Linked DNA regions of Homo sapiens: all the other regions are linked to region 1. Evidence: promoter capture Hi-C in 16 types of primary human blood cells and fetal thymus (Javierre and others, 2016). All regions are on one chromosome and are shown on one strand. The core of a region is centred on a gene start or on the middle of the fragment in contact, and the rest is flanking DNA. Distances in the headings are between cores, read along the strand shown. Region 1 holds the start of MAML3-AS1 (MAML3 antisense RNA 1). Region 2 overlaps MGST2 (microsomal glutathione S-transferase 2). Region 3 has its middle 47 kb from the start of MGST2. Region 4 overlaps MAML3 (mastermind like transcriptional coactivator 3). Region 5 overlaps MAML3 (mastermind like transcriptional coactivator 3). Region 6 overlaps MAML3 (mastermind like transcriptional coactivator 3).

Region 1 (2,888 bases), core at 122-2,621:
TTTCAGCCATCTGCAATGTCTATACCCGCAACCCAGACCTCTGGCTAAACTCTAGTCCTATACATCCAAATGACTACCAGACATCCCTTCAGAATGGACCATAAATACACCCATTAAACGTCGCATGTCCAAAACCAAACATCTTCCCTCCAAAACCTAAATTGGCTAGTAACACCATTTTCCAAGCCAGAAAACTGGAAGTCATCCCTGATTTCTCTCAGTCCCCCCTGTCTACTCAATGGACTCCTTAATATATTTTGAAAATGGTCTCCTATCTCCATCTCTACCCACTACTCACCTACTTGAAGCCCTTCAACATCTTCTGCTGAGTATTCTGTAACATCTTCACCGACCTCCCTCCACCCAGTCTTGGTCTCAAACCTATCTTTCGTATGGTCATGATGACATCACACCCTCGTTTATAATCCTTTGATAGTTTCTCTTCTCCTATGTCATAGGGCTTATGCTTCTGAGCGTGGCAGATAAGGCCCTCCACGTCCTAATGCCTTGCCTCTCTCACCAGCCTCTTCTTCCACCACTTTACGTCCTGAGCTTTCTGTTTCAACAGCACCAAAACACTCATGATTCCCTGCTCATGCCCTGTGTTTTGTACCTTCATCCTCCATCCATGGAGCCCTCAGGTTCTTGCAGGGGAGGGGCAGTAAACCAGATGGTTGTCACTTCAATGTTTAGCCCAGCATCTGGCTCCTAAGCGGTGCCATGTGGCCAGTCAGTGATAAATGATGGGAGACAGTATATGGTATGTCCAAAAGGAGTGACAGAAAGTGTGGAGGGAATTTGGACTCACATTGATAGTCACTGCAATGGGGCCTAAACATGCTAAGCACCTTCCACACGAGAGGTATAGAGAGCCAGCAAAAGCTCGACTCTTCCATCTAACAAGCACCACAAACCTAGAGTCATGCTCTACTTTTTTGGAGAAAACATGTTGGCTTCCCACTGAGCCTGCCATCATGAGGCACAATAGTGGGCATCTTGGTGGTTTGCTAATAATAACAGCTGATATTTATAGAAGGCTCACTGTGGATCCAGAACTTTACTGAAAATTCTACAAGAACTGTATCTCTCAGTCCTCACATCAACACTATGAGGAAGGAACTACTGTTACCCCTGCTTTACAGGTGGGGAAATGAGGCCCAGATACCAAGTAGCTGTACTAAAAGCACAGAGATTTAACCTCCTGGACCTTATTCACCAGAACGCAAGCCAAACCTCCATATACATTTTACTTACTTCCCAAAATTTTATGTGTACATCAAGAGCTGATCATAAATAGAAGGTCAAAGTGACCTATTGTGACATCAAATCTTGGAGCCACTTTAATGTGACTTCACTAAATTGCCTTCGTCCAGTGCCTCACAGACAGCATCCCAGCACATCATGGAGAGCTAAGTGACAGAACAGGCAGCTCCTCTTCTCCCTGGTGAGGCCCCTTCTGCTGTGCCCTGGCTCTCTTTTGCCCCTCATTTGTCCATATTCCTCTCTGGTTTGCTCCAAACTCCTCCTCCTACCTTCAATTAAGATGGTGCTTTAGAACAATACAAGGTAAGATCTCTTCTTCATAAAAACAGAGAACTCATCACACCTCAGGAGGTGCAGAAGCCAAAAATACTCATAGGTTTGAGAAGAGTTTAGATACAGTCACAGATGAGCGAAGATGAGGGCAGTATGGAGCTCAGAGAAGAACCATGTGCTGAGGAACAACCTGCAGGGCTAAAAATCAACTAAGTCCATGGATATGTATGGAGCACCTGCAATATCCAAAGTACTATTTCAGACCCAGCAGCACCCCTGCCTTTAAGGAGCCCCAAGCTCTGACCACTACTTGGGTTCTGTTAGGGAATGTCAGCTCAGAGCTCCCCATGGGCAATGGGATCTTTGCAGCAGGAGTATCCTTCTAACACCAAGGACTTGGAGCTCTTGGAAAGCACTCTGTGTGTCAAAAAAGGGTGCACCCACACAGGCTATCCCCACACAAAGGCAGCTGCAGTGGTCCTCTAGATGTGTGCTCAAGCCCAGAGAAGACTTTGACTGTGGCAATTTGGGAGGGAAACAAATAAAGTAGACAGTATATCTTCACAACAACCATCGCTAGTGGGCCACATGCAGGGCAAGAGAAAGAACTAACACCCCAGCAAGCCAGAAGCGTCTCCCTGTCCTTGAGGTCAGGGCAGAGTGGAGAGACCCAGGCAGGGAGTAAATGGAACAAGTAACAACTAGGTGTGAACCTTCAAGATTTCCCTTCCATCACGCTCCACTAGCATAGGTAGTCTTCCGAAGACCTAAATCCACTGGTCTCCTTCTAGGACCAACATCGAGAGGTCATCAGAGTCGTAGTCACACAGCCTCAGGAGCAATAATGTCCAGGTTTGAATCCCTGTTCCACCATTCATTAACTGTGACAAATCAACAAAACTCTCGGGGGACTCAGTAGCCTCATCTTTTAAATGGAAACAATAATTAGACGAGCCTCAGAAGGTCATTGTGAAAACTGAAAGAGATGATAACATGCAAAGCATTTAAAAGTGTCTCACACTCAGAAAATGTGAGCTGTTAGTATTATCACTTTTTTCCATCAGTGGGACCATGGAAGCCCCCTTCTAGGCCATGACAAATTGTGGACCCCACGTAGATGCTATATGCAGGAATAACTTAGAACACAAGTTGTCCCGTTTGAAGGTCAAACCAAAATTCTACAAAGAAGGTGACTCTAAATCCCCCCTACCCCCAATTCTTATGCATACCTTCTTTGCATGAGACACTTATTTTTGATCAAATTAAATCAAAACTGATTTCAGCTGCAGCACATAGTTTTAAAAGGTAAAGCAGAAGAGCAGGTAGATTTTGCCTGCTTGATAATTTCCCTT
Region 2 (2,888 bases), core at 152-2,651, 450 kb before region 1:
AGGCGTGAGCTACTACTGGGCCCGGACAGCATTTACACACTTTAGATATTCAGTGACAATGTTTAAATCCTAAACAACAGCTTATTTGTAGCAGAAGGGGATTAGTGGAAGGGAAGAGCCTGCTTTGAGAGCCCTTGCTACACCAGGATCAATATTGACTTCTTGTGAGAGGGGGAGATCATATCCTGTTCCAGTAGGAAACACATTGCCTCTAATACTCTTAACACAGGGAGAGACCCAAACTATACACTTGGTGTGGAATTTTAAAAGGAAACATTTTTAAAATATTAGCAGGTAGGAAACAGATATTGAGGTACTAAAACAAGTCAGACAAGGAGATAGTGGGGGAGACAACTGGTAAGGAGCTAAAACTGAAATAAATAATGTGAAGCGAAATAATAGTTACTGTAACCCAACTGAACGTGGGTCCATTCACCCAGCATACAGAAACAAACACAAGCACCAGGATTTGCAGTGACAGAAAGGGAAGCATTGATTGCAGGGTGCCAAGCAAGGAGAACTGGGCAGCTAATGCTTAAGACCCTAACTCCCCAATGGCTTTCAGGCAAGGGTTTTAAAATTTTATTTATTTTATTGTTATTTGAAACAGGGTCTTGCTCTGTCACCCAGGCTGGAGTGCATTGATCCTGGCTCACTGCAGCCTTGTCCTCCCAGGCTCAAGCGATCCTGCCTACTCAGCCTCCTAAGTAGCTGGAACTACAGGCGTGCACCATCACCACACCTGGTTAATTTTTGTATTTTTATTTTCTAGACATGGGTTCTCACTATGTTGTCCAGGCTGGTCTCAAACTCCTGGGCTCAAGCAGTCCTCCTGCCTCGGCCTCCCAGAATGCTGGAATTACAGGTGTGAACCACCATGCCTAAATGGGTTTTTAAAATTTGAGATAGGGTCACACCATGTTGCCCAGGCTGGTCTTGAACTCCTAGTCTCAAGTGATCCTCCCACCTTGGCCTCCTGAAATTCTGGATTACAGGAGTGAGCCAACAGACTTGGCCCAAGCAAGGGTTTTTAAAGGCAGGGGTATATTTCAGGAAAGCAGAAGGTATAGGAAAGATAATAAATCAATACATGGAGGTTATACCTTGGTTTGGCCTCAAAAGGCAGGATATCTTGACACAGGGGCTTACAGGCCACAGGTGGATTCAGAGATTCTTTGGTTTGCAGTTGGTTAAGGGAGCAAGGCTTTGTCTAAAAACTTGGGTCAGCAGAAAGAAATATTAAGGTTCTAAGCTAAAAAGTATCTGAGACAATTTAGAAAATTTATTTTGCCAGGGTTAAGGACATGCCCGTGACACAGCCTCAGGGGCTCCTGACAACATGTGCCCAAGGTGGTCAGGGCACAGCCTGGTTTTATACATTTTAGGGAGACATGAGACATCAATTCATTTATGTCAGATGTACATTGGTTCAGTCCGGAAAGGCGAGACAACTCAAAGTCTATATCCAGGTCATAGGTAGATAGGAGACATTCTTTTGAGTTTCTGATTAGCCTTTTACTGAATCAAAGGAAGCAATCAGATATGTATTTGTCTCAAGTGAGCAGAGGAATCACTTTGAGTTCTGTCTGTCCTTTGTCCACAAGGAATTTCCTTGTGGGTAAATTGTGAGGGAGCTATGTAGTTTTTTTTTTTTTTCTTTTTTTATCTGGTGTCTAGGCAAAGTGGCTCACTTCTGTAATCCCAGCACTTTTGGAGGCTAAGGCGGGTAGATCACTTGAGGTCAGGAGTTCAAGACCAGCCTGGCCAACATGGTGAAACCCCATCTCTGCTAAAAATACAAAAAACTAGCTGGGCATGGTGGCACATGCCTGTAATCCCAGCTACTCAGGAGGTTGAGGCAGGAGAATTGCTTGAACCCAGGAGGTGAAGGTTGCAGTGAGCTGAGATCATGCCACTGCACTCCAGCCTGGGTGACAGAATGAGACTCTGTCTCTTAAAAAAACAAAATCTTTATAGCTATCTTATTTAGGTATAGAATGGGAGGCAGGTTTGTCCAATGCAGTTCCCAGCTTGACTTTTCCCTTTGGCTTAGTGATTTGGGGGTCCTAAGATTTATTTTCCTTTCATGAGGTTTAACCCGTGTGTGTGATTCTCTGCAGGCCCCTCAGGAAGAAATTTAGAACAGGGAATGGTGGTCAGAATTCAGTCCTCAGTTCCCGCTTAGCTGAGGTCTGTGTGACAGTGGTCAGCATTTTCCATCTGGTGGAGGTCCTGGTTTCTGAGAAACAACTCAAGAACTTATGTGAAGACGTTGTCTTTAGTTTCTATAGGGAACCGAACGTCTTGTAACTCTGTCTTATTTGGGTGACTATTATTTAAACTATTATTATCTTCTCGCTTAGCGGGACTGAAGGATAGCAAGGTGCTTGGAATTTCCCTTGAAGGAACTCAAGAGTTTTTATTTCCGTGCTTGAGGTGGCTAGCAGGTCCCTAAGAGTGTTCCTTGCTCTGTCTCCATGCCAGAAGTTTATTATGGGGTGAAAAGAGGAAGTTAAGGACAGGAGGCAAGACCTACTGAAGGCTCAAAAACTGACAGAGGAGGAAGTATGGATGTGGAAGTGAAAGAAGTCCACAGAGCTCATCACAAGATGAAGGTGGTCCCAGGCATCAGAGTTGATTATCTAATGAAATAAAGGAGAAGAAAGTCATACTGTTTTATAACAGGGAAACGTCGGCAGGTAGGAGCCATCATCCCCAAAGTTTTCTTGTACCTGCTGGGCAAGGTGTCAGAGCCCTGGCAATGGAAAGTGATTGGCCCACAGGGAGTAAGAATTTACCGACAACAATATAGGTTTGAAAAGGAAAGTTTTATTAGATTGAGAGAAAGCTGCAGAAGAGTGCAGCGGGCTGCCTCAGCGAGAGGACTG
Region 3 (2,888 bases), core at 259-2,758, 410 kb before region 1:
GTAGCCCAGTAGGTTTCAGCCTCATTTCACCCAGTTCCTATTTAAGATGGAGTTGCCGCCTCTGACATTTCCCCCCTTTCTTTTATAAGAGAACCTTTAATCCTAAGGGTTGCAGAGGGACAAAGATCCATCTTCTGTAACTTCTTCAGGCTGAATAGGGGCGATGATATTCCTGCCTAACTATGAGGGTCTCTTGCATTCAGGGTATAGAGGAGCTCAGTCAGAAAGCATCAGTATGGTGAGGGCCATTCATGACTCTTGAGTTTTGACAAGAGGTGATATCTGGAAGATTAATAAGTGTTTAGTTTAAGAAAACATTCAGTAAGCTTGTTCTGTATTCCTACACAAAGAGTATAGCAGTAATGTATTCCACAAGAGTAAAGCAAAATAAGTAAAGTTATTCCAAGCAAGCTAAATTAGAAGGCTTTCCATCAACTGTGCAACTGTTGAAACCAAGCTGATATGGGGTTGGCAGCTGATTGCAATGTGCCCAGAATTAGAATACTGATCCAGACTTTTACATTACCCATCCCTCTTGTTTCCTCTGAGCAGCAGTTAGAGATCACTGGTTAGTTCACAGGAATAAACAGGGTTAGCTTAAATTGCAGAAACAAACTTAAAAACAACTAGTGAGACTAGAATTTAATAACAAGTGTACCATAGTTCTTGAAACATAATAGTTCTCGCTCCAGTTTCCCATTTTTACTAAAGACGAATTATGGTAAGACTGATTTGCTTTATTATACTTGGCCTGATTATTTGTATAAAGTACAGCAAGGATAATTATTTTTCACACAGGCATTTTAATTGGCTTTGATGGAACTCTGTTTCATAAGGAATCTCAGATAAGACTTTTTAAAAAGCCGAGCCCTGCCATGGGTTTGTACCCTGAAATACCTATGAGTTAGGTAAATTCCTGTCCTTTTGAGGTCCCAAGATAACTTGGGGCTCCTGGACCTGTGAGAAAGTGAAATTCTTTACTTACCATAGGTCAGAAACCCTATACAGGGACTGTGTAGGCAAGGTATGAGGCCAGTTCCCCAAAGGGTTTTTATTGGCTCTACAAGTCAAGTTTGATTCCTTAAAGGAAAGCACACCATTCCAGTCAAAGCCTTGGTAAAATGACCCATTTCTCCAATTGTGTCCTGTTACAAAAGAAAACAGATTCGTATTGCATTTATGCAAATAAGTATATTGCCATAAGTTAAGAATACTCACAACTAATTTCCAAATTCTGAAGTCAGGTTAGAGAGAAACAAATATGTTCCAAATTTTGTTCACAGCAGTATGCTTTACTCAATTGCTACAAGCTATAAATAGCTCAAAAGAAAAGTTTCCTTGACTCTGAAAAACAAAGCAAAGCATGCTTCTCTGTTCCAAGTGTGCGGAGTCAAAGTATCCCTCCATAACTACTATTAGCCATCCCTTAAAGTATATTTCCTACCTAGTTATTTCACAGCAAAGCTGTCTCAAAATGCAAAGTAATTTCTGATACCCCCCAAACTCAAAACCATCAGATAACACAATACAAAACAGAACAGAGCATTTGATTTTGAGAGGGATCCATCTGCTTTTAATTCCTGGGGTTTCAAGATAAAAACAGGTTTTTTCCCAAAACGGAGTCTGTGACACCTCCTTTGTTTTTCCCAATGAGTCTGTGACACCTCCTTTGTTTTTCCCAAGGAGTCCCAGGCTACCAGAAGTTATCTTAGGGCCTCTCGTGTGTTCATTAAGAGTGGCAAGACAGAAAAAAAAAAAAAAAAAAAAAAGGAGAAAAATAATTCAGTTGACTGAGAAGAAAAAACCTTTTTCCAGAAAAACAAGTTCCAAAAAGAGAAAATCATTAATGGCCTTTTAAATATATCTATTGCTTGTTTATCTACTTTTAATTAAGCTGACTTCTAACCATAGTGTTCTTTAAAAAAGAAATACTTTTGGATCTCTTATTACCTGACTTTAACAATGCCAAGCGGCCAATATTTCTAGCTTCTGAACTCTACCAGAGATAACCTCCTAGGTGCTTAGTGAAAGGAAAATTTAAGACAGTCCATGGAGAAGAAGAGAATAGACAAGGTCATGCAGATATGAAACCAGAAATGGTAGGCGGGGAAATCGAACCCTGGCTACCAATATGAAAGTGCACGATCTTAGCTACTGAGCTATAGCAAAGCGTGGTCTCCAGTTCCTTTCCCAGGAAGAGTCTAGAGTAGTTAATTTTGAGCTTGCAAAGGCTTTTAACTATTTAATATGATTTTTAGAGCTATGACATGAATCCTAAAATTCCTATTTCCTGGAAGGTGGAGACCACGGGAAGGTACCACCACATGGTTAAAAGGTCAAGCTCCCAAGGACATAAAACAAGGTGGAGATTTCATCCAGTTTTTTGTTTGTTTCAGGGACCTGCAGCCAAGTTTATTACTGACCAGCTTGTGAGGTCATCCTGAAAAGCGGGCTTACAGGTATTCTAAGCCCATGTTTTATCCTAAAGTACCCCTTTACACAGAAAAACGAATTCATGGCACAAAATACACCAGCTTAAGACTAGCCTTAGAATTCTTTTTGGCATTAATCAAAACTTTACAGAGGACATAAACACTGATTTTTTCCCCCCATTCATTTAACTATTTGCACACAGAGACAGAAGCCAGAAATCTGACTGGGAAGAAATTCCTACCCTTTTGCCAGCATGCTAAGCTTCTGGGTTCTCTTTCCCTGAGGGGCCCTAGTGATCTGGCTTGTGGCACAACTGCCTTTGGGGGCCAAGCCGCATCATAAAGGAAAAGTATTTCTTTTTGTTCTGGCCAAAGCAAAATACGCGTAATAAAACATAGATATTAACCAGGCTGCTTAGCATCCAATATCAAACTGGCAAGGCTTAAATTTGCCCT
Region 4 (2,888 bases), core at 240-2,739, 390 kb before region 1:
TACCGACTTTTCTTCCAGCCGGAGGGGAGGAAGAATTCAAGTGGGGGAGGGCGCGGGAAGGGGACGTGGAGGGAAACGGAAGGGCTGGGAGTGGGGTAGGGGGGCAGTGGCGACCTCCGGGGGGGGAGGGTGGCGGACACCAGACCCCAGGGCCGACAGCCCGGGAGGGACCGGGTTCCAGGACCCCAGCTGCACAAAGCCGGCCCGGGGAGGGGGCGATAAGGAGCGAGCCTCGGGTCGGCCCGGCACCGCTGCTTCGGCTCAGAGTCCTTGCAATCGCTTGGCCTACGAACAACCTAAATGAAATTTAGGGTTTTATTGAAAAAGTCCCCTGGGGCCTAATTTAGCCTCTCGACTCCAGCCTATATGCTTACAAGTCCTCAGGGGACTCCGGCTAGGAAGTCAGGAGTGGGGCCCGTGCGTCCCCGGCAGGACCTAGACTGCCTCTCGGCGCAGGCGGCCCTAACAAAGAAGCCCACGAGGCGGTCCCGGGCGCGGGCAGGGGCGGTGCGGCGGCGCTCGGGAGACCCGCGAGGGGCCCTGGAGGTCCTCGGCCCGCGCGCGCCGCTCGGGAGCCCGCGAGGCTGCGGTGTGCTCCAGCGGGCGCATTTCCCAGGCCCCGCCACATCGTGTGTGTTAGTGGCTGGGAAGGACACGAGGACAGAGATGAGGATTGTTCGTGGCAGGAAAGAGTAAAAATAAATCAATGCATAAACAAAAAGGATGCCCCAGAAAACCTGTGCTTTTCAGACACACACACACATACACACACACTCACTCACTCACTCACTCTGAATTGGGTCAAGTAAAAAAAAATTTTTTTTAAAGGAAGGAATCTTTAGCCCAACTGGGATTTCGACGAAATTGTATATATCAAAAGATAGCTACATCCAACCTCTCACCAGAATCCAGAGGCTTTCTCCTGCAAAGATACTATTGAAAGTTTTATTAGTAAGTTTGAGAAGGCGAAAGTATGTATCAGAGGTGAAAGCTAACATGACAATTGCTTGGCCAAAGAGCGCAGCAGTTTTATGTTATTGAGCAGCACAGGATGAATCGAACACCCACGATGGCTAGACAGAGGCGCCTGGCTGTGACTCCCAGAGGTTCAGGCAAGCCATCTGACCTCTCTCAGTCCCCACCCCCTGAAATGAAAACCATACTCATAAGACTCCTTGACAATGGAAATTTTGGAGGTGACATAGTTAATGAAGTGTCATAGAAAGGAAATAGCTAAGAATACTCTAAAACCTCCCCATTCCCAGTATGGGCAATTTGGGAAAAATGAGTAACTAAAAATTAGGGGTTCTCAAAGTGTGGTTCCAGGATCAAATGCATTAGTCCCCACCTGGGAGCTTGTTAGAAATGCAAATTCCCAGGCTCCCCTCTAGGCCTCCTGAATTAGAACTTTTGGGGGTGTTTTAACAAGCTCTCCAGGTGGTTACGATGTCCCATAGAGAATCATTGGGGCAAATAATCCTGTGCCCTGATTAGATTGCAAAGCTGCACTTTCAAAAGCAAGTCAGGGTGCTGAGTTGCTTAGTTTCTATTGCAAAATTTCCTGCTTTGGAACAAAATTTTCAAAATTTTCAGAGGGTTGCTCAGGCCAGTGATGTTTGCAATGCAAACCCAAGAATTCTGAAAGGAGCCCATGGCTGAAAGGAGCCAATTCTTCCAGGACGGACTACTCCAGTTGCAACTGTGCTGTGGAGGCTGAGGAGCATCCATGACTGAGGAAGGGCGAGTCCCCTATAATGCCCTTGCTAAGGGGAGCATCAGACATCCCTAGACTTACAAGTCCCTCGTGTAATAAGGTGAACTATGGAAAGCTATGATTTGAGGAAAGTTCCCTCTGATTGAAAGAGTTCTTCAAATATGAAGAATGTAACACTTATGGGGCACCTACTCATTGCAAAACACTCTACTAGGGGCTTTCACCTGTATGTTTAACTCATTTTGTTGATTTTTTTTTTTTAAGCCCAAATTTCTGAGAGGTTAAGGAACTTGTCTGGTGGTGGCGTCTCTGGGATTCTGACTTTTCCACTGACCATAACATGCATCTGGTCTAAATTGAGCGGACCACCCAGGAGGATGTTGGAATAAAAAGAAATGGGAAGGGGGTGGGGAGAGGAATGGGCATAGAATAAAAAGGTAGAAACCCTTGGGATCAAAGGATGCAACTGAAAGAGCACCAAAATATGCATCATTTTTTTTAATATGTTGTCTGGTACCCAAAATTGGGATGCCTCTGTGGTATCAACTTTGACATTTAAAGAAAGGGCATAAGATTAGATCATTCAACCATAAGTGGAAGGAAGAAACAAAATAAAATAAAACCTTACAATTCCCTTTGAAGTTGATCAGGTGTCAAGGCAGTGATTTGGTTTTCTTTTACAAACTTTCTTTTTCCAGAAAAATTTTTACTGTGGGTTTGGAGAGGTGTTTACAATAAATTCATAGCAGAGCTCCAAAAGGGCCCACCCCATCTAATATCCTCTGTCTCAGCAGATTATTGAAGAAGATTGGATTAAAAGGTTTGTTTTGTGATGTGTGATGGTTGTGTCCCCAAGATGATTGAGTTTGAGGCAGAGTTCATCAATTTAGGAGGCTTATCACTGAAGCAGCAATAACTTGGGGCCCAATGCGAAGGCTGCTAAATGGGTCCAGCAAAGCTCTTGGTTCAGCTTCTAGAAAGGAACAGTGTACATTGGGGGAACCCCACAGGCCTGGGTAGAAACTCAGCTCCACCATGGGCCCAGTGACTGGCACATAACAAACAGCTTGTGGTTGTTATTCTTACTGCCGAAACCTCTTGATCATGCAGGGCATCCTTCAGGGTGAGGGAAGTGCTGTGTTTCTGGTGCTAGCTTTAGCTCCTAAAATAAAGG
Region 5 (2,888 bases), core at 184-2,683, 340 kb before region 1:
TTAAAATATTGTTTTGGTAAAGATGGGGGTCTCACTATGTTGCCCGGGCTGGTCTTAAACTTCTGGCCTCAACCAGTCCTCCCACCTCAGCCTCCCAAAGTGCTAGGATTACAGGTGTGAGCCACTGTGCTGGGACTGACTTTTTGATCAAGCTGGCATGGTGAAACTAATATTAACAGTTTACATGGACACAAAGATAAAAGTGTTAGCTGATATATATATGTAGAAAAGTGGCTTTCCCCACTTTAACAGGGCTCTTAGGAGGGCAATAGACATGCTAAATGGAGGTGGGCCTTCCTGGTGCCCCTTTTGGTTGTCCTGTAATGAATGGCAAAGTTCAGCCAAGGATCAACTGCAAACTGAGCTTCTTTACTGCCGAGGAGCTGGCCAGAGCTAGTGGTGTGCGCACCCAGAACCTGCAATGTCTATGGGTGAGGCTTCACTTAAGACAGGAGGCCTCTGATGTCAACCCCACAGCTCTGAGCTGCTGGAACATCTTTGGGGCTCAATTTGGGAATCACCTTTCACCTAAAAATATTTTTTCCCTCCATCTTTCAGATGGAGATTTGCAACATTCAAAGTAGAGCCTTACAATTGTATTTGCTGCCCTTTCCTATGCTCCAAATTTGGCTTTAGGCTGCCTATTTTCAGTGTTTGGGAACCTCAAAAAAGGAGCAATGCATAAAACTTCCAGCTGATAGGAATCCTTCCCCAGGGCTTGTCATTTAGCTGCAGCTCCAGCAGGCATTTTGAATGAAGGGGAAAAAAGGACATACAGCCTCGCTAAGTACAGGGGCCTTAAAGAAAACACGGTTCTTAAAGCCCTTTTGTCCTCTGTCTATCTGTAGCACAGGATAATGAAAATGGATACGTGTTGCCTGTTGTTCCTATGTAAATGCTACCTCGAGGACACAGTCTTCACCAGGCAGATGGCTAATTTCTTTGCTCTAACCTCATTTCTCCAGTATTCCGGTGTTCCTGTGACGTCCTGCTCCTGGAGTCAGGTCCTAATTGTTGTCAAGCGTTCAGAGACAAAAGTGGTGTCTACACATCATTCATGTGAAGGCTGTTACTGGCTATGAACTGTAGTTGTGGTGGCAGCAGCAGTGACTGCAGTGGCTGCAACACAAACCTTATGGCAGGTAGTACCTGCTGGTGTGGGGCTGCTCAGAACCTGCCTTTCTGCTTCCAAGTGTCAAGCTGAACATTTTCCTTTGTTATCGCTTCCAGCCCCTGGACTCCAACGTGCTGAAAGCCCTGTGTCTTTCTGTTGGGATCAATACCCGCTTCTTTAACTGTTCCTCTCTGGTTCAGACTGTCTCTCGGCATCATTCTGACCATGCAAATCTGGGGATGCCCAAGAGAGGGCTCATTTGTCTTGTCACAGATTTGGGGGGTGCTGGTTAACTTGTGGCCCCTTGGAAACCCCACTGCCACCGAGCAGTCAGGTAATCCTAATAGCCAGGACCCTCCCAGTCAGCGATTGGCCGTCTGATTGGATGCACATTCATCTTCAAGTTATGTTGTGTGACAGCCCGGGCTGCTGAACACCATTTTAACATGCAGATTGACTCCTCGGAGGCTCTTCATTACGCATTTAGCGGTCTGTTTTCAGACTAACCAGCATGTCAGAGAGGCCCGCTATCCTCTTTCCACCTGGGTGGAGGAAATAGCTCACTGACTGTGGGGGAGCCACAGATATTAAAATGCATATGTTTACCTTCCTGAGCATCCGCACACAACAGCTTTCTCTGATGCAAGAGAAGAAAAAAGAAGAAAGGACCCTTGGTTCTGAAATGCAAGGAAAATGGCTAGCAAAACAAGCGAGCCTTTGTTGATGAGAGCAGTCAACAAGGCCAGGCCCGCCTGATGCCGCCCAGCTGCCCGCAAGCCGACCTGGGAGCGTCCACACAAGCACTCCTCTTATCGACACACAGACCCTCTCTTTCTCTCTCACACAGAGCCTGAAGCATTTTAAGCAGAACACTTCCAATTTCCTGTTTCTAAAACCATCTTGCCTCTCCAGTGGCATTCCAAGCGATCCTGGCGAGGCACGGGATGAGGGAGAATGGTGTTGGTTTAGGTGGCTTCCACTGCAGGGCTCTGGGCTTACTTGCGAGGCTCCAGGCCCCTTCTTTACCCACCCCTCTTCTCTCCCTGCTGTGATTGACTTCCACTTGCTAAAAATACTTCCCTATGGCCTCTCGTTGTTCCTGCATGAGTGCTGATGTTTTCTTGTGCGCGTGTGTGGGTCGCCTTTCTCAAGAATCTCTTTCCATTCCTTAAAAAGAAACATTTGTATTGCTTTTAATACAATTCTCATCTCTTCCCACTTAGTCCCCCAATGTACTATTCTCTCCATTCTTCTGAAGGACCAATTAAACTGGAAGGGTACTCAGTTCTTTGGGCCTTTGCTATGCGCTACGCCTTGGCCAAGTCTGCAGCCCCTGCCCTCATCTCCGATCACTCTCTTGCTTCATTTCTTTGTTGTCACCAGAGAAAGATCCTGGAGAGGTTTAGAAGGCTAGCTTGGTTCTCACAAGTGGGAGCTAATGTGTGCACGTGGACATGGAGTGTGGAATGATAGACATTGGAGACGAGGAGGGGTGGGAGGGTGGAAAGAAGGTAGATGATGGGAAATCTCTGAATGGTACTATGTACATACCTTATTCGGGTGATGTATACACTAAAAGCCCAGATTTCATCATCACACAACATAGCTGTATAACAAAATTACACTTGTACCCCTTACATTTGTACAAAAGAAGAAGGCGGCTAGCTTGGACACAAACACTCATGAGGCCAGGGCCGATACCTGGATTCCTAACTGACAGACACCCAGCCACATGGCTCCTGGGTGCTCAATGTCTGAACCACAGCCTGCCCCT
Region 6 (2,888 bases), core at 222-2,721, 320 kb before region 1:
TCAGCAGGCGTTTGGGAGATGTGTAAGTTAATAACCATGTTTGCTAGGAAAACAGGAGAGAGGGCTAATTAGCACAGGGAGCCTGGCTCTGGTGAAGGATGACATGTTTGGTGTATGCAGGGTGGCAGCTGAAAGTTACTAATACTGCCACATACCCCCACTGTGCTTCTGTTACCCCAGTTCTCCCAGAGTCATGATGAAAATAATAACACCACACAGCACTTTACAGTCTATAAAGTGCCTGGCTATGTATGCATTACACACATCACCTCATTATATCCTCTTTTAAAGCCTGTAAGATCAGTTTTACTCCTGCAACTCAATTTCATAGAAGAGGAAACTGAGGTCAGAGTTGAAGATCTTGCCCAAGGTCACACAACTGTTGAGTCCAGAGCTAAATCTCAATGTGGGGTCTTGGTTCCAAATTCCACACTAGTTCAACACACCCAGCTCACACCATGCAGGCACACTGAGGATGCAGGGATCTGATATGATCTTCACATGTAGAGTGCAGAAAGGTATTACAGAAAAAGCTGGGGATCGGCAGACCCAACTTCCTGCCTTGGCTCTGCCCCTGAAGAGCTGTGTGCCCAAAGGTGTGTCTCCTCAGCACTTTGGGCCTCAGTCTTCTCATCTGATGAGTGAGAAGGTTGGAGTAGCTCAGTCATTCTCAGCTCTTTTTAGGGTCTTAAATAGTTGGCAACCACTTGAAATTCAGCTATAGACTCTTCCTTCAGAAAAATGCACACATGATACACACATACACAAGTGATCTCACTAAGGATTTTTTTTTTTTTTGAGACAGAATTTTGCTCTCATCACCCAGGCTGGAGTGCAATGGCGTGATCTTGACTCACTGCAACCTCCGCCTCCCGGGTTCAAGCGATTCTCCTGCCTCAGCCTCCAGAGTAGCTGAGATTACAGGTGCCCGCCACCATGCCTGGCTAATTTTTGTATTTTCAGTAGAGACGGGGTTTCACCATCTTGGCCAGGCTGGTCTCAAACTCCTGACCTCAAGTGATCTACCCACTTTGGCCTCCCAAAGTGCTGGGATTACAAGTGTGAGCCACAGCGCCAAGCCTCACTAAGAATTTTAATACATTCATGGATCCCAGTAAGACTAGATGGCTTGGGCTAGTTGATTTTTAAGGTCTGCTTATACTCTAAAATTCTATCATACATCCTCTTTCTGCAAGCATATTAATTTATATCTGCTTATAGTCTCATATGTATGTATACACTTAAGTAGTAGGACACTATTTACATTTGTAACAGAAACAATTTATGTTTTGGGAAATCAAAAGAAAAGTTTTACTGGGCTAAGGTCTGAAGTGTGGCTTTAGAAGTAGAGGATAGTGTGTCTAGAACAGTGCTGTTTAGTACTCACAAATAACAATTAATTTAAAAATGATGCTGGGCGCGATGGCTCACACCTGTAATCCCAGCACCTTGGGAGGCTGAGACAAGCAGATCACCTGAGGTCAGAAGTTCAAGACCAGCCTGGCCAACATGGCGAAAACCCATCTCTACTAAAAATACAAAAATTAGCCAGGTTAGGTGGCAGGGGCCTGTAATCCCAGCTATTCAGGAGGCTGAGGCAGGAGAATTGCTTGATTTGTAACCGGGAGGCGGAGGTTGCGGTGAGCCGAGATGTAGTCATTGCTCCCCAGCCTGGGCAACAAGAGCGAAAATCCGTCTCAAAACAACAACAACAACAAAAAGAATTTATTATAAGCATGAATTTCATTTGTCTCCTGTTTATGCAATGACTAAAAGTGGTATGTTATTAGGAATAGTCACTGATGGTGACACAGAAATAGAAGTTGGACATTTCTTGTCTGAGAAATAATACCTTAAAATGGGTTAATTTAATCCAATTAGTTTTCAGATAGAAATTATTTAATTACTAATGACTTCTGGCTTGTCAGGTTTTGCTGGGTTTTCTCATAGTCTAACCCCAATTTAGCTAATCAAGACCCTCTTTTTAAAAATGCCACTTTGCAATGATTTCAGAAACAGAAATAATTAAACACTTGAGTTACCCAAGAATAACCTTAATAAGAAATGAATAGAAACTACAAGAAGAAAATTAGAGAATCTTTAAAAAAGACTTGAGTGAATGGAGATATAGTTCTTATTCCTGAATGAAGAGACTGCATATTGTGAAGAAGTCAACTCTTCCCAGACCATTCTATAGATTTAATATAATTCAAATCAGCATTGCAGAGGGATTCATTTAGGAATTTAATAAATTTTTTATAGTTATTCTGGAAAAATAAACTGGGAGGAGAAGCTAAGGAAGCTAAAGAAGGCAATATGAGATGTTAGAACCTACTGTAAAACCAGAATAATGGAATACTATGCGAGCGGTGGAAAAACCAATAGTTCAATGCAAGAGAAATGATAGTCCAGAAGGAGATCTTAAGAATTCATTATCTGTTAAAAATATGGGGAAAGGAAAGATTATGAAATAGACAAGAATAAGGGGGGATATCTGAAGTTAGATTTGCACCTTGCAACTATACCAAAATACATTTCTGAAGAGCATATAATTAAATGTAAAAAATGAACTCCAAAAACATTTTTAAAAGTCAGTATTTCATGATTTTGGTATAAAGTCTTTCTAAGTATAAAATAATTAGAAGTTACAAGGGAAGAGGTTAATAGTTTTCATTGCATAAATTTTTAAACTGTACATTAAAAACCCTTAAAAATTAACAAGCAGATTAAAAGCTAGGACAAAATATTGGCATAAATGCAAATTTATAATATGTAAGTTTTTTAGAAAAAGAAATATATATCCTATTTTTGAAAAATGGGCAACAGACATGAATAGAGACAGTTTATGAATGAAAAATATAATTTAGCCAATAATTCTTAACAGATGT

Evidence for each region. Contacts are between HindIII fragments. The CHiCAGO score rates a contact against its expected background, and 5 or more counts as called.
Region 2: a fragment that was not itself captured here is called in contact with the fragment with the promoter of MAML3-AS1 in region 1 in 1 of 17 cell types (neutrophils); the score reaches 5.1 in neutrophils.
Region 3: a contact is called between a fragment that was not itself captured here and the fragment with the promoter of MAML3-AS1 in region 1, in 1 of 17 cell types (neutrophils). The highest score is 5.2, in neutrophils.
Region 4: a fragment that was not itself captured here is called in contact with the fragment with the promoter of MAML3-AS1 in region 1 in 7 of 17 cell types (M2 macrophages, neutrophils, M1 macrophages and 4 more); the score reaches 7.9 in M2 macrophages.
Region 5: a fragment that was not itself captured here is called in contact with the fragment with the promoter of MAML3-AS1 in region 1 in 1 of 17 cell types (neutrophils); the score reaches 5.5 in neutrophils.
Region 6: a contact is called between a fragment that was not itself captured here and the fragment with the promoter of MAML3-AS1 in region 1, in 1 of 17 cell types (neutrophils). The highest score is 5.5, in neutrophils.

What each region holds. Positions count from the first base shown.
Region 1 is chr4:140,126,644-140,129,531 of GRCh38, forward strand. MAML3-AS1 (MAML3 antisense RNA 1) reads left to right here and starts at 1,372. Exons shown (of 5, transcript NR_147610.1): 1 at 1,372-1,444. All of the region lies in intron 1 of MAML3 (mastermind like transcriptional coactivator 3), which reads right to left. The HindIII fragment of the contact is 9,535 bases long and covers 1-2,888 here.
Region 2 is chr4:139,672,827-139,675,714 of GRCh38, forward strand. All of the region lies in intron 1 of MGST2 (microsomal glutathione S-transferase 2), which reads left to right. Among named protein-coding and RNA genes, the nearest start is that of MGST2, 8.5 kb to the left of the region's middle. The HindIII fragment of the contact is 7,308 bases long and covers 1-2,888 here.
Region 3 is chr4:139,711,729-139,714,616 of GRCh38, forward strand. It overlaps a transcript of MGST2 not described here. Among named protein-coding and RNA genes, the nearest start is that of MGST2, 47 kb to the left of the region's middle. RefSeq lists an enhancer at 1-591. The HindIII fragment of the contact is 2,368 bases long and covers 325-2,692 here.
Region 4 is chr4:139,735,352-139,738,239 of GRCh38, forward strand. All of the region lies in intron 2 of MAML3 (mastermind like transcriptional coactivator 3), which reads right to left. It also overlaps a transcript of MGST2 not described here. Among named protein-coding and RNA genes, the nearest start is that of MGST2, 71 kb to the left of the region's middle. The HindIII fragment of the contact is 4,202 bases long and covers 1-2,888 here.
Region 5 is chr4:139,782,331-139,785,218 of GRCh38, forward strand. The region is part of intron 2 of MAML3 (mastermind like transcriptional coactivator 3); the gene reads right to left. LOC124900782 (a long non-coding RNA gene) reads right to left here. Exons shown (of 2, transcript XR_007058277.1): 2 at 1-2,888. Among named protein-coding and RNA genes, the nearest start is that of MGST2, 120 kb to the left of the region's middle. The HindIII fragment of the contact is 4,083 bases long and covers 1-2,888 here.
Region 6 is chr4:139,803,486-139,806,373 of GRCh38, forward strand. The region is part of intron 2 of MAML3 (mastermind like transcriptional coactivator 3); the gene reads right to left. Among named protein-coding and RNA genes, the nearest start is that of MGST2, 140 kb to the left of the region's middle. The HindIII fragment of the contact is 9,936 bases long and covers 1-2,888 here.